2 separate regions of the Homo sapiens genome follow, and region 1 is linked to region 2. Evidence: promoter capture Hi-C in human tissues and cell types (Jung and others, 2019). All regions are on one chromosome and are shown on one strand. The core of a region is centred on a gene start or on the middle of the fragment in contact, and the rest is flanking DNA. Distances in the headings are between cores, read along the strand shown. Region 1 overlaps DNAJC11 (DnaJ heat shock protein family (Hsp40) member C11). Region 2 holds the start of DNAJC11 (DnaJ heat shock protein family (Hsp40) member C11).

The links. Contacts are between HindIII fragments. The study calls those that stand out against the background at their distance.
Region 1: a contact is called between a fragment that was not itself captured here and the fragment with the promoter of DNAJC11 in region 2, in 1 of the 25 tissues and cell types used here (liver).

Annotation. Positions count from the first base shown.
Region 1 is chr1:6,655,718-6,663,300 of GRCh38, reverse strand. The region is part of intron 4 of DNAJC11 (DnaJ heat shock protein family (Hsp40) member C11); the gene reads left to right. Among named protein-coding and RNA genes, the nearest start is that of THAP3, 35 kb to the right of the region's middle. The HindIII fragment of the contact is 5,021 bases long and covers 1-3,793 here.
Region 2 is chr1:6,700,177-6,707,122 of GRCh38, reverse strand. It overlaps DNAJC11 (DnaJ heat shock protein family (Hsp40) member C11), which reads left to right and starts at 5,307. Exons shown (of 16, transcript NM_018198.4): 1 at 5,307-5,394. The coding sequence starts at 5,323. RefSeq lists a silencer at 5,071-5,520. The HindIII fragment of the contact is 19,207 bases long and covers 3,074-6,946 here.

The DNA of each region.
Region 1 (7,583 bases), core at 34-2,533, 40 kb after region 2:
GTGTGGGGGCAAAGGAGTTTGACTGTCTCTGCGGGCATATATTGCTTTAGTTTTTTTGACCCTATGACAAAATAGTTTGATGGAGATTTACATTATTTCCTGGCCATTTTTGCTATTACAGAGGTTGATATACACTCTTTGGCAAGACCTCTCTGATCTAGAAAACTCCATCATCAGCATGGTTTGTGTAATAGCTGAGAGACACAATTCAGCTTTATTAGAAAAAAATGTAAATGATGTATCGGCCAGGCATGGGGGCTCACACCTGTAATCCCAATATGTCCAGAGTTCATTCCTTTTGGTGGGTTCATGGTCTCACTGACTTCAACAATGAAGCCATGGACCTTCGCGGTGAGTGTTACCTTAAAGGTGGTGCGGACCCAGAGTGAGCAGCAGCAAGATTTATTGTGGAGAGCAAAATAACAAAGCTTCCACAGTGTGGAAGGGGACCCGAGCAGGTTGTTGCTGGCTGGGGTGGCCAGCTTTTATTCCCTTATTTGTCCCTGCCTATGTCCTGCTGATTGGTCCATTTTACAGAGTGCCGGTTGGTCCATTTACAGAGTGCTGATTAGTGCACTTACAATACTCTAGCTAGCCACAGAGCACTAATTGGTGCTTTTTACAGCGAGCTGATTGGTGCATTTACAATCCTCTAGCTAGCCACAGAGCACTGATTGGTGCGTTTTTACAGAGTGCTGATTGGTACATTTACAACCCTCTAGCGACAGAGCGCTGATTGGTGCGTTTTTACAGAGTGCTGATTGGTAACATTTGTAAGACAGAAAAGTTCTCCAAGTCCCCACCTGACCCAGGAAGTCCAGCTGGCTTCACCTCTCACCAACACTTTGGGAGGCTGAGGTGGGTGGATCATCTGAGGTCAGGAGTTTGAGACCAGCCTGACCAACATGGTGAAACCCCATCTCTACTAAAAATACAAAAATTAGCCAGGCGTGGTGGCAGGCGCCTGTAATCCAAGCTGCTTGGGAGGCTGAAGCAGGAGAATCACTTGAACCTGGGAGGCGGGGGTTGCAGTGAGCCGAGATCGCGCCACTGCACTCCAGCCTGAGCAACAAGCTCAAGACTCCGTTTCTAAATAAATAAATAAAAATAATGTAGCAAGAGCCTGGGCAACATGGTGAAATCCTATCTCTACAAAAAAAAAAAACAAAAAACAAAAAACAATTAACTGGGCATGGTGGCGTGCTCCTGTAGTCCCAGCTACTCGGGAGGCTGAGGCAGGAGGAATGCTTGAGCCCTGGAGGTGGAGGTTGCAGTAAGCCAGGATCGTGCCAGCCTGGCTCCAGCCTTCAAGATGTACTCCAGCCTGGGTGACAGAGAGAGACCCCATCTGAATAACGTATCAAGGAAGGCATGTAACCATAAAAATATTTTTAAATGCCAAAATGTTTTCATAAAGATGTAAGCGTGCATCACTTGATTATTTTTAAAGGATGTTGGGGTTGCCCTGGCTAATAACCGTAGCCAGCAAAGTCGCCCATGGTTATGACTTCAGTCTGTTCTGCAGAAGTGATTCTGATGTCATGAAACTGCCTGGACTTGGCTGAGAGGATGATGGGGCAGAAGAAGGGTTGTTTAAGCCATATGTTTGTTGTGCGTAGTGGCAGGAAGGGGCAATTTACCGTCTGCAGAAATGGGCTGCTGTTGCAATTGGAGAACGTGAGAAGTTGTCTTGTAAGGAGAAAAGGGACCAGAGCCTGGTTAATCAGGTCTGGGAAAGCACTGTGATAATGAAACTGAAACCCTGGAGAAGAAGAGTGGTCTTGGCAATCGGGATAGAAGGCATAGAGGGATTCAAAGGTAAAACAGCTGTTTGTCTTGAAATGAGTATCCGTCGGAGGGCTGTTTTCACCCCCTCATGTCAGCATAATCGCTCACAAACAAGGTTTCAGAATTAAAGACTACTGTTTATACGGGGAGGACAGGCTCTGACTTCCATTTGAGATAAAGTGATTCTGTGGGAAGCGTCATGAGTGCCATGCTGGGTTCACCAGTTATAAAACAGGTGAATTTCACATTGCCTCGTATCACCTCTTTTGGTGGAATTTTCAGTTAGTAAAGAGTTCCTTTTGAGATTGCAGTTGACAGAAATTTCTTATGTTACCCTCATGGCCAGATAAATATAAACATGAAAATCATTCCACCTGGGTGGTGGTGAATGTGTTAACGTGATTGTGACCATCACTACACAGTGTCTGCGTGGATCAAATCAGCACACTGTACACCTGGCACGTGTGCAGTCTCTATTTGTCAGTTAAATGTTTTACATGTTTTTAAGAAGATTTGAAACCAAAAAATAAAGAATTTAGAATGGTACATTCCTGGCTGAATAAACAACTGATTCTACTCAACGAGTACAAATACATCATTTCCTACCTGGTAAGAAGTTTCTCATTGTGGGAGAAAGGCTGTAACTCAGGCTCAGAATTTCTGAGTGATGTCAGTGAAGACGTGTTTATCACATTCACAGTTGACCCAAGGCAGAAGGTTCTAAAAGAGCCCAGTGAACAAGAATGAAGGGATTAAACTGCAAAATAACATTTAACAGGGAGAAATGTGCTAGCTACGAAAGGGGGGAATCAGGGAAAATGGTCATCTTTCGTTGACTTGGTTTAATATTAGCAATTTTGTGGGTTGGAGGTGGGTAAAAATGGTTGATTTATTCGCAAAGTAATTTAATTTGGGTGCCTGTAATGTGCCAGACACTTTAGGAATGTGAACATTCCGCAGAGAATAAAACAGACAACCTAATCCTGCCATGAAGCTGAATAATCTAGTTGAGGGACAGAGAAGCTGCAGTAAATGCAATATATAAATTATATATTAAGACTGGGCGTGGTGGCTCATGCCTGTAATCCCAGCACTTGGGCAGGCCGAGGCAGGCAGATCATCTAGGTCAGGAGTTCAAGACCAGCCTGGCCAACATGGCAAAACCGCGTCTCTACTAAAAATACAAAAATTAGCCGGGCTTGGTGACGTGCTCCTGTAGTCACAGCTATTTGGGAGGCTAAGGCAGGAGAATCACTTGAACCTGGGAGGCAGAGGTTGCAGTGAGCTGAGATCTCGCCACTGCACTCCAGCCTGGGCAACAGAGTGAGATTCTGTCTCAAAAAAAAAAAAATTATATATTAGAAGGAGAGAGAAATGATGTGGGGGGTACATAAAGCGAAGGAAGTGGGGAAGGCTGCAGTTTTTTTGTTTTGATTTTGGTTTTTTTTTTTGTTTTTGAGACAGAGTCTTGCTCTGTTGCCCAGGCTGGAGTGCAGTGGCGCAATCTCGGCTCACTGCAAGCTCCGCCTCCCGGGTTCATGCCATTCTCCTGCCTCAGCCTCCCGAGTAGCTGGAACTCCAGGCGCCTGCCACCACGCCCAGCTAATTTTTGTATTTTTAGTAGAGGCGGGGTTTCACCTTGTTAGCCAGGATGGTTTCGATCTCCTGACCTCGTGATCTGCCCGCCTCAGCCTCCCAAAGTGCTGGGATTACAGGCGTGAGCCACCGTGCCCGGCCTTGGTATTGTTTTTGAGACAGAGTTTCACTCTTGTTGCCCTGGCTGGAGTGCAGTGGCACTGTCCTGGCTCAGTGTAACCTCCACCTCCTGGATTCAAGCAATTCTTCTGCCTCAGCCTCCGAGTAGCTGGGACTACAGGTGCATGCCACCATGCCCGGCTCATGTTTTTGTGTTTTTAGTAGAGACGAGGTTTTACTATATTGGCCAGGCTGGTCTCAAACTCCTGACCTCAGGTGATCCACCCGCCGCGGCCTCCCAGAGCGCTGTGATTACAGGTGTGAGCCACCATGCCCAGCCTGCAGTTTTAATTAGAGTAGTCAGGCTTCACTGAAAAGGTGCCACTGGAGGAAGGATGGGAAGCAGATGACAAAGTTAGCCACGTGGCCATCTGGTGAAGAGTGTTGCAGATAGAGGGCAGAGCCAACGCAGAGGCCAAAATGGAGAGGTGAATCTGGTATGTTCAAGGAACAGCAAAGAGGCCAGTGTGTCTGGAACGATGAGAGAAGACATTAGTAGGAGTTGAAGACATTAGTAGGAGTTGAAGACATTCCATTTCCCCAATGTGAAATAGGGACCAGGCTTAATGTGTGATGGTTCAAGAGACAAGAACCAATAGCAACAAGTCAGTGTTACTGGGAGATGATTTGGGGTTAATATAAGGAACATTGAGCAAGTTGGGCTGCTGGGGACTCATGGAAACTGCTTTGATCCACTGTCTAGTCATGAACACAATGTGATGAGGACCTCTGTCTTCCAACAGGTAGCAGTGGGTGGGATGTGTATGTAATTTAAATAAAAACTAAGTCTTACAGACTATTTGCAGAGCCAGTGCAGGACTAGACCCAGGGCCGGCAGGCATTGCTCCTATCTGGGCTGTATTAACTTGGATCAGGAATTATAGGGGCCATTGATGACATCTGCTGGCCAGGGGGGCAGCAGTTGGCCTGTGAGTATTGATGTCATATGGTTATGTTGGTTCCTCCCAAGGGAGAAGCAGCTGAGGTTTACGGACACAAGAACTCTACTAATTTAAAAATAGGCCTATAAAGAATTTCTCTATAAAGTAAGTTTTTAGATAGCTTTTTGTTTGGAAGTCCTTAAGATATGGGGAATTTTTTTTTTCAATTTTTTTTGTCAGAGTAATATGTGTACAAGGTTCAAAAGTCAGGTATTTACTAGACTTATAAAGAAAAGCCCTGCCGCTCCCCGCTTTCTACTCCTGACTCCTGTTCCCTTAAGGCAGCCACTCCCAGCTCTTGGAGCTGTTTCTTCTGTCATGTTTACATGGTTCTCTCAGTTTCTTCAGTTTTCAGTCTACCCAGTGTAATTATAATTGGATTACATTAATATTCACTATATACATTGCGGTGACCATATAATTACTCAGTTGACCCAGATCATATACCAGGATTACCTAGCCTTTCTTAACACTTTTTCCTCTGTGTTATTAGTAATTGTCTCATTCGTTTCCTTTGATTAGTTTTCTGTAAATCTGTCACAAAGTCATCTCCAGACTCTCTTGTCAGAGCTGAAACGTTCCTCCCAGTTTCATTAGACGCTTCAGGTATTGTGTCACTCATTCTGATCTCAGTGGCATCCCGGAGCCCTCAGTCCCCAGATCCCGTCTGAAGGTGTCACTCCATTGCTGCAATCTCACGATCAAGCTGGAGCAGATGAGGAGTATCGATGCACAGAAATGGTGGTTTCTTGAGATGGAACCTAGTCCTGGTGAAGATTCTGTGATCACTGTTGAAATGACAACACAGGATTTGAAACATAAGTTAGCTGATAAACCTATTTTCACTTGGTTATCTTTAAATCCCAGAGTCTGGCTGGGCATGGGGGCTCACGCCTGTAATCCCAGCACTTTGGGAGGCCAAGGTGGGCAGATCACGAGGTCAGGAGATCGAGACCATCCTGGCTAACACGGTGAAACCCCGTCTCTACTAAAAATACAAAAAAATTAGCCGGGCGTGGTGGCAGGCGCCTGTAGTCCCAGCTACTCGGGAGGCTGAGGCAGGAGAATGGCGTGAACCCAGGAGGCAGAGCTTGCAGCGAGCCGAGATCGTGCCACTGCACTCCAGCCCAGGCGACAGAGCAAGACTCCATCTCAAAAAGAGTAGGAATCATTATTTGGGGCATGTATCTACAGACTTTAGTCTGTTCACCAACCCTGTCTATCTCCAGTATCAGTGGTCTGATTATGTGCTGCTGTATAACCATTTCCAAACTTGGTGGCTTCCAACAATAATTCCATACTGTCTCACAGTTCTGTGGATTGGCTGGGACTTGACTGTGATGGGATGGTGCTCACAGGGGTTGCAGTCAGATGGCAGCTGGGTCTCATCCTCAGAAGGCTGGCTGGTCTGCATGTCAGCAGTGGCTTCTGCATTCATGTCTCACACACCTCAGCGGAGGTGGCTGGCATCGCTGTCTCTCTAGGCAACCTCTCCCCGGGCCAGCTCAGGCTTCCTTGCCAACAGCAGTCTCTGGGTAGTTGGACTTAATACGTATTAGCTAGTGTCCCCCAGATAGTGCATTTTAGAGACCTGGGCCAAGCTGCAAGGCTTCTCGTGAGCTGGTCTTGAAGTCAGCACCATCACATCCACGCATTCTGTTGGACAAAAGCAAGTCTGAGAGTTGCTTTTGTGAACCTGAGAGGTTCAGGATCAAGGAGAGGGCTCTGTACAAGGGTGTGAGTACCCGCAGGCATGGTTCCTTAGGAGGCCTTTGATCTGACTTCCACAGTGTGTCACACTATTTTTTGAAGAGTGTATTTCCTGTGTCTTTTTCTTTTATAACATTGCCTACCATCTTTATGAAAGTTGCATTTATATTTAGCAAGTTATATTTTACTTTGAGATAGGGTCTCATACTATCACCCAGGCTAGAGTGCAGTGATACAGTCACAGCTCACTGCAGCCTTGGCCTCCTGGGCTCAAGGAATCCTCCCACCTCCCAGTGGAATCCTCCCAGTCTCCTAGGTGACTGGGACCACAGGCGGATACCACCACTCCCAGCTAAACTTTTTTTTTTTTTTTTTGGTTTTAGTTTTTTTTGTGGAGACAGAGTCTCAACATGTTGCCTAGGCTGGTCTCGAACTCCTGGGCTCAAGCAATCCCTCCACCTCAGCCTCCCAAAGTACTGGGATTGCAGGAGTGAGCCACAGCACTCAGCTGAAATTTTTGACACATTTAATTGATTCATCTCTGTATATCATATTTTTAATTTAGAAAATATTCTCTCAATTCTAAATTTCTTCATATTAGAACATAAAAATATCTTGGCCCAAGTATTTTGACAGGTATTGTCTTTTTAACTTTATTCACAACAGTTTTCTTTGACACATTTTTCTAAATCATCTTTATTTATGATCTTTTGAATGTTTTATCAAATTTAGATGCTATAAAACTGTAGACCTTTTCAATTCCATTTCATTCTTGAACAGAATATAAATTTACCTAATTAAACATGACAGCTCCACCAAGATTCCTACACAAAATAAAGATACTCCAAAATGCCGTTATGGAATTTCAAAATTGTATCTCATTATATCTCATAAACTCTTATTTATTTTGTATGGTTTTTTTCCCCCTAAAAAGATCAGCTTCAGATTATTTTTCATTACAAGCTTTATTTTCAGTGATTGTAATTTTTTTTTTTTTTTTTTTTTTAGACGGAGTCTTGTTCTGTTGCCCAGGCTGGAGTGCAGTGGCACAATCTTGGCTCACTGCAACCTCTGCCTCACAAGTTGAAGCAATTCTCCTGCCTCAGCCTCCTGAGGAGCTGGGATTATAGGTGCGCACCACCACGCCCGGCTAATTTTTGTATTTTTAGTAGAGATGGGGTTTCACCATGTTGGTCATGTTGGTCTCAAACTCCTGACTTCGTGAGCCGCCTGCCTCGGCCTCCCAAAGTGCTGGGATTACAGGCATGAGCCACCACACCCGGCCTGTTCTTGTTTTTGAGACAGAGTCTTGCTCTGTCACCCATGCTGGAGTGCAGTGGCGCAATCTTGGCTCACTGAAACCTCCACCTTTCAGGTTCAAGCAGTTCT
Region 2 (6,946 bases), core at 4,058-6,557:
GAATGACATTGCAGGTAAAATGCTGAGTGGCGTTAGATTCTCAGCCTCTCTGGGCGGCTATCTCCAAAGAGGCAGGTGTGGCTCTTCCCCCGGGGTATCCCGACCCTTCTGTAATGATCATCTTGGCTAAAGACTAGTCAGTGAATACTCAGAAAGAAGATAACATCAAGAAAATTTAATTATTGAATGCTGGCAAAGTTCCCCTTCTTTCCTTAAGCAAAGGATCTTTTTTCCCTATCTCCTTTAGCAGGGTTGTCAGAGCTCATGAGGGAGAGGACGGGCAGGCTATGAATGGCAAGCATGCAGTAAATCCCAGTCTGGACTCAGTGACAAAGGAGTAATAAAAAGATTATAGGTAATTTTTCCTCCTGAATTATAGAGAGGGTGTGGATTCAGCCTGGCTATAGAAGGGGTGGGGCAGGCTGCCCACCTCTGCTCTCAGGAGCGTTACTCAGGAAAAGGGGGAAGGGCTGCAAGGCCTCCAGCTGGGGTTACAAATCAAAATACAGGATTCTGGCCAGTATGGTGGCTCACGCCTGTAATCCCAGCACTTTGGGAGGCCAAGGTGGGCTGATCACCAGAATTGCTTAAACCTAGGAGGCGGAGGTTGCAGTGAGCCAAGATCATGCCGCTGCACTCCAGACAGGGCAACAGAGCAAGACTCCATCTCAAAAAAATAAAATAAAATAAAAAAATAAAGCAGGATTCCCAGAAAAGTAGTTATTTAGTATATGTATACATCCCCATACAATGTGATGTGTGTGTGTGTGTGTGTGTGTATGTATATATATATATATGTTTTGTTTTTTTTTTGAGACAGGGTCTCAATCTGTCACCCAGGCTGGAGTGCAGTGGCATTATCACAGCTCACTGCAGCCTCGACCTCCCCGGGCTCTGGTGATCCTCCCATCTCAGCCTCCCAAGTGGCTGGGACCAAAAGCATGTGCTACCATGCCTGGCTAATTTTTGCATTTTGTGTAGAGTTGGGGGTTTCACCATGTGGCCCAGGCTTGTCTTGAACTCCTGGGCTCAAGAGATCTGACCACCTTGGCCTCCCAAAGTGATGTGATTACAGGCATGAGCCACTGCACCCAGTCCTTGGTATACTTATACTAAAAAATTCTTCATTGTTCATCTAAAATGCAAATATAGCTGAGCATAGTGTATTTCATCTGGCAACCTACCTCCAGTGCTATAGGGAGGGTCCCAGAACTGGACTGAGCCATTAACAGAGAAACCTTCCTGAGCGGCTACACAGAGTAGCTGTGCTGGAAGCCAAAATGTTTTGGGGTCATTCTGCATATGAATCATGGTGGAGGTAAATATTCTTATGTTTACTATTTAAAGATGGGGCCGGGTATGCTAGCTCAAGCCTGTAATCCCAGCACTTTGGGAGGCCGAGGCAGGCGGATCACCTGAGGTCAGGGGTTTGAGACCAGCCTGGCTAACATGGCGAAACCCCCATCTCTACTAAAAATACAAAAATTAGCTGGGCATGGTGGCAGGCGCCTGTAATCCCAGCTACTTGGGAGGTAGAGGCAGGAGAATCGCTTGAACCCAGGAAGCCAAGGTTGCAGTGAGCCAAGACTGTGCCACTGCACTCCAGCCTGAGAGACAGAGTGAGACTCCACCTTAAAAAAAAAAAATTGGCTGGGTGCAGTGGCTCACACCTGTAATCCCAGCACTTTGGGTGGCCAAGGTGATCAGATCACTTGAGGTCAGGAGTTCAAGACCAGCCTGTCCAACATGGCAAAACCCTGTCTTTACTAAAAATACAAAAATTAGCTGGGCGTGGTGGCACATGCCTGTAATCCCATCTACTCGGGAGGCTGAGGTATGAGAATCACTTGAACCCAGGAGGTGGAGGTTGTGGTGAGCAGAGATCATGTCACTGCACTCCAGCCTGGGCAACAGAGTGAGACTCTGTCTCAAAAGAATAAATAAAATAAAGATGAGAGAATTTGTTAGCAGTTGCATAAATGCGTATATCTCATATAATATTTGCGTAAATATAAAATACATATGCCCATGTATGTATAGTTACATAAATATATTACATCAGTTTATATTTAAATGTCACCTATTAAGTTTTGCTTTACAGCTATGTTACAGACTGTTTTGTGGTTTCACCCAACAAAAAGAAACCAAAAGGCCAGGCACGGTGGCTCACACCTGTCATCTCAGCACTTTGAGAGGCTGAGGCGGGCAGATCACTTGAGACGGGAGTTCCAGACCAGCCCTGCAATGTAGCAAGACCCTGTCTCTACAAAAAATACAAAGCTTAACCAGGTATGGTGGCGGGCACCTGTAGTCCTAGCTACTATGGAGGCTGAGGTGGGAGAATTACCTAAGCTTGAAGAGGTGGAGGCTGCAGCAAGCCATGATTGCACCACTGTACTGCAGCCTGGGTGACAGAGGGAGACCCCGTCTCAAAAAAAAAAAAAAGAAAGAGAAAAGAAAAAGAAAACAAAGTGCAAGGCATGAGTTAAAGCAGCTGGGTTTTGTCAGTTGCTCGGCGTAAGTAGTTTGTTGGATGTGCGTTTTTAACTTATAAATTTGTACTGCCTTTGGTTTCCATTATTTTGCCCGTTGAAGATTAGGGTTTTGGAGGAGAGAAACGAGAGAGCCAGCCTCAGAAACAGATACATTCCTCAAGCCTGTGGAGCATCTAAGTTAGCTTTCTATTTATCACCACCACTTTCCAAGTAACCATAACACAAAATCTCGTGGGCCCAAGAGAGGACAGCCACAGAGCATTCCTGAGTCACTATTTATCTTGTTTGAGTGGTGATAAAAACCAGGTCATTCTCAATCATAGAAACACAGACCTGGGCGTAGTGAAACATATGTTATGTTCCATTTATATAATTCCTAGAGGCTGTGTTTTCCAAAGCAGAGGAGGGATGGCAAAGAACTTCTCTACCCAAGTAAGCATTATGGCCCAATTAATGTCTACAAACCTAAGGAGGCCGGGCGCGGTGGCTCACGCCTGTAATCCCAGCACTTTGGGAGGCCGAGGCAGGTGGATTACTAGGTCAGGAGACCAAGACCATCCTGGCTAACATGGTGAAACCCCATCTCTATTAAAAATACAAAAAAAAAAAATTAGCCAGGCGTGGTGGCAGGCGCCTGTAGTCCCAGCTACTCAGTAGGCTGAGGCAGGAGAATGGCATGAACCCGGGAGGTGGAGCTTGCAGTGAGCCGAGATCGTGCCACTGCACTCCAGCCTGGGCGACAGAGCGAGACTCCATCTCAAAAAAAAAAGAAAAAAGAAAAAAGAAAAAAAAACCTAAGGGAAAAAGGAATGTCTCCACATTGTTGTTTTTACCCCCAGTCTCTCTGTATGAAATTCTTGGCCGGGTGCGGTGGCTCACGCCTGTAATCCCAGCACTTTGGGAGGCCGAGGCAGGTGGATCACGAGGTCAGGAGTTCGAGACCAGCCTGGCCAATATGGTGAAACCCCGTCTCTACTAAAAATACAAAAATTAGCTGGGCGTGATGGCGCACGCCTGTAGTCCCAGCTGCTTGGGAGGCTGAGGCAGGAGAATCGCTTGAACCCGGGAGGCGGAGGTTGCAGTGAGCCAAGATCGTGGCACTGCACTCCAGCCTGGGCGACCGAGTGAGACTCTGTCTCAAACAAAAAAAAAAAAAAAGAAAGAAATTCTTAAAGACTGTCAAATGTCAGCATGCAGTTTGGCCCTAACCACAGCTCTTTTCTCTGCAAAGGAGAAAAAGGCAAAGCCCATAACATTGCTGGAAGAGCTGATGGACCATGGAAGCTGTTGTGGAGAAGCTTCACACAACTAAAGAAATAGCCCTTAATTTACAACCTGGGCTGACAGTTTGTTTCAGGCTGACTCAACCCACCCGAACAATCTGTCTCAGCACACCGAAGTGTCTCATGCCAAAAGATCCTAAGAGGGCTGGGCAACTTGGAAGGGATGAGACACAGGCCCAGATGGTGCACATCTGGCCAAAAATTAGAAAGAGAAAGAAATCAGCCTCTCAAATCCACAGACAGGTGTTCGGGGCTTCCCAGGAGACCTGCTTATGAAGGGCAACGGGGATGGCTATGGACTGGTGGTTAGTGAAGGAACAACAAAGGTTTCTGAGACTTGCGCAGGTCAGCGGGAACCAAACAGGTGGCAAGAGTGGGCTGCTGTCCACCTTCCCTTGACAATGGCGTCATTTCGAAGACCTTTAAATTATTTAGATTGTTGTAACCAAGACATCTTTAATAATGCACCAAACAGCAGGCACCAGGTTGAAATCAATTAGACTCCACCGATAAATTATAAGGGAGAAATTTACAGGAGAATGGCTCTGGGGTAGGGACTGCAGGTACACATGCCTGCCAGAGACAATTATATCAGGAACCAAATAGTTATTGCTTTGTCATTTAAGCAGCAGAAAAGATGGCCAGGTGCTCCTAAATTAGAGCAATAACAAATAACTAAAATGAGGAGGCCTGTTCTGGGCAGGAAGGCTTCTGGGTGGCCAAGAGAAAAGACAATGGAGGTAGGAACAAATGTCATTTGGGGGATATCTAGGATCCGGATGCACCCTGCACTGGGGGCACCTCGCGCTTCTTCCAGGAGTTTGGGGCCAGTGGGGTAACAGGTGGTATCACAGGGGTTTGTCTCCCAGAGGATGACAATCTCCTGGAGGTGACTTCAAAGTTTCCCTTTCTAGGCAGGACGCGGTGGCTCATGCCTGTAATCCCAGCACTTTGGGAGGCCGAGGATCTCCTGAGTTCAGGAGCCTCAGACCAGCCTGGCCAACATGGTGAAACCGTGTCTCTACCAAAAATACAAAAAAATTAACTGGGCGTGGTGGCGCGCGCCTGGAGTCCCAGCTACTCGGGAGGCTGAGGCAGGAGAATCGCTTGAACCCGGGAGGTGGAGGCTTCAGTGAGCCGGGATTGCGCCACTGCACACACACCAGGCTGGGCGACAGAGTATGACTCCGTCTCAAAAAAAAAAAAAAAAAGCAAAGTTTCCCTTTCTAGTACAGGAAAAGCCCTAGGGAGTCCTGGCTGGATCTCAGGCCCCCGAGGACGCAGCCACGCCGCGTGCCACGCGTCCATTGGGAGCACGAAGAGACACCCGCGTGGTCACCCCGCCAGGGCTGCCTAGGCGCCGCGTCCCGCCCTAGGCCGCGCGGGGGCGCAAAGCGCAGGCGCACTCCCGCCGGGCGCGGACGGCTCCGGGCCGCCAGGGGCCGCTGTGGCGCAGCCGGGCTGGCCCGCGCTGTCCCTGACGCGGATCACTGGCCCCTCTTGAGCACGGCCTTGCCGGTTTGGCGGGGTGAAAGGTTGCGAAGATGGCGACGGCCTTGAGCGAGGAGGAGCTGGACAATGAAGACTATTACTCGTTGCTGAACGTGCGCAGGGAGGTGAGGCCAGCGGCTGGACGCTCTGGGGGCTGAGGCCGAGCCCGGTCGTTCGGGAGGGCCGGGCTGGCGGTGGCCGCCCCACCCCCGCCACGGGAGGCTCGGGTCCGTCGGGGAGGCCGCGTGACCCCGGCGACGTGCACGCCAGCCGCCCGATGGAGGCGTCCCCACCGCCCAGACCCTCCCGCCGGGGGTTCCGGGGCCAGCCTCCGCCCCAGCTCCTGAAGGCCAGTGCGCCGCGTGCACTGTGTCCGGGTAGGGCCAGAGGCCCCCGCACGCTCAAGAGGAAACGGGGGCCCCGAGGAGGCCACCGTAGTGGGGTTAGCAGTCCTCCGAGACCCCGTCTCGCGCTCAGCCCACATACTCGTCCTGGCTGAGGGGCTGTGTCATCGCCCGCCGCCAGCAGGATGGCGAACTGAGTCTCACCCACCAAGGTCAAGGCCACTAGGGAACGTCCTTAGGGCTTTTTCCGGTTCCCGAGTCTTTCGTGGGGACGCTCTGCCTCTGAAGTGGGTCCAGCCTCAGAGGCATGCGTCTCATGCCCTCTTTCATTCCCCTGGACCCGATGTCCAGAAATTGCAGGCAGAGCCTCCGGGACACAGACCCTCGGCTCGGAGGCTGCAGATTAGGAAGAAGCCCTAGGCCAGAAAAGTGGTGCCCTAACAACAGCTTCAACATTCACACCAAGCACTTGTACCCTGTCTCCTCAACGAATAAAAGATAACATGAGAGAGTCTCACATAGCCTGGCAGTAGTAGGGCCCCACTACACTCCTTTGTTCTTGACTAGTCTGGAGTTGAGATAGGTGTGAAGGGCGAGAAGGCTTCCAGGGTCAGGTCATGAGGTGGATCAGTTTCTTTAAGCCGATGGGTCCAGACTTTTCAGCCCTGCCAGAGAATTCCTAATTCCATCTCTCAGGTTTTCCAGTGGTAATGAAAGCTAGCCAAGTTTGGCTATGCTAACCAAAGCGGGTTCAGTGTGTGTTGTCAGTAAATATTAGTCTATGTGATGTTAATAATACAAACTTATCTTGTGTGGGACCACTATGCTGAATGAACTTTGTACTGTTATCTCATTTAATTCTGAGGATAGCTCTTAAGGTAAGTATTATGATAGCCCTTGATTTACACTTGAGGAAACCAAGGCATAGAGAGATTAAGTAGTGTGTCTAAAGTCACACTACTAGAAAGTGCAAGAGCCTGAACTCAACCCAGGCAGTCTGACTCTGGAGCCCAGCTTGTGAGCTCCATGCTAGTCTGTCACCTTACCTTACCAGTCCTTGGACTACAAAGCTGCTAGTTCTGGTACTGTATCCTTGAGTGTCACGCGCGTCCGTGTGAAGAGACCACCAAACAGGCTTTGTGTGAGCAATAAACCTTTTTAATCACCTGGGTGCGTATGGGCTGAGTCCGAAAAGAGAGTCAGCAAAGGGTGGTGGGATTATCATTAGTTCTTATAGGTTTGGGATAGGCGGTGGAGTTAGGAGCAATTTTTTGTGGGCAGGGGGTGGATCTCACAAAGTACATTCTCAAGAGTGGGGAGAATATTACAAAGT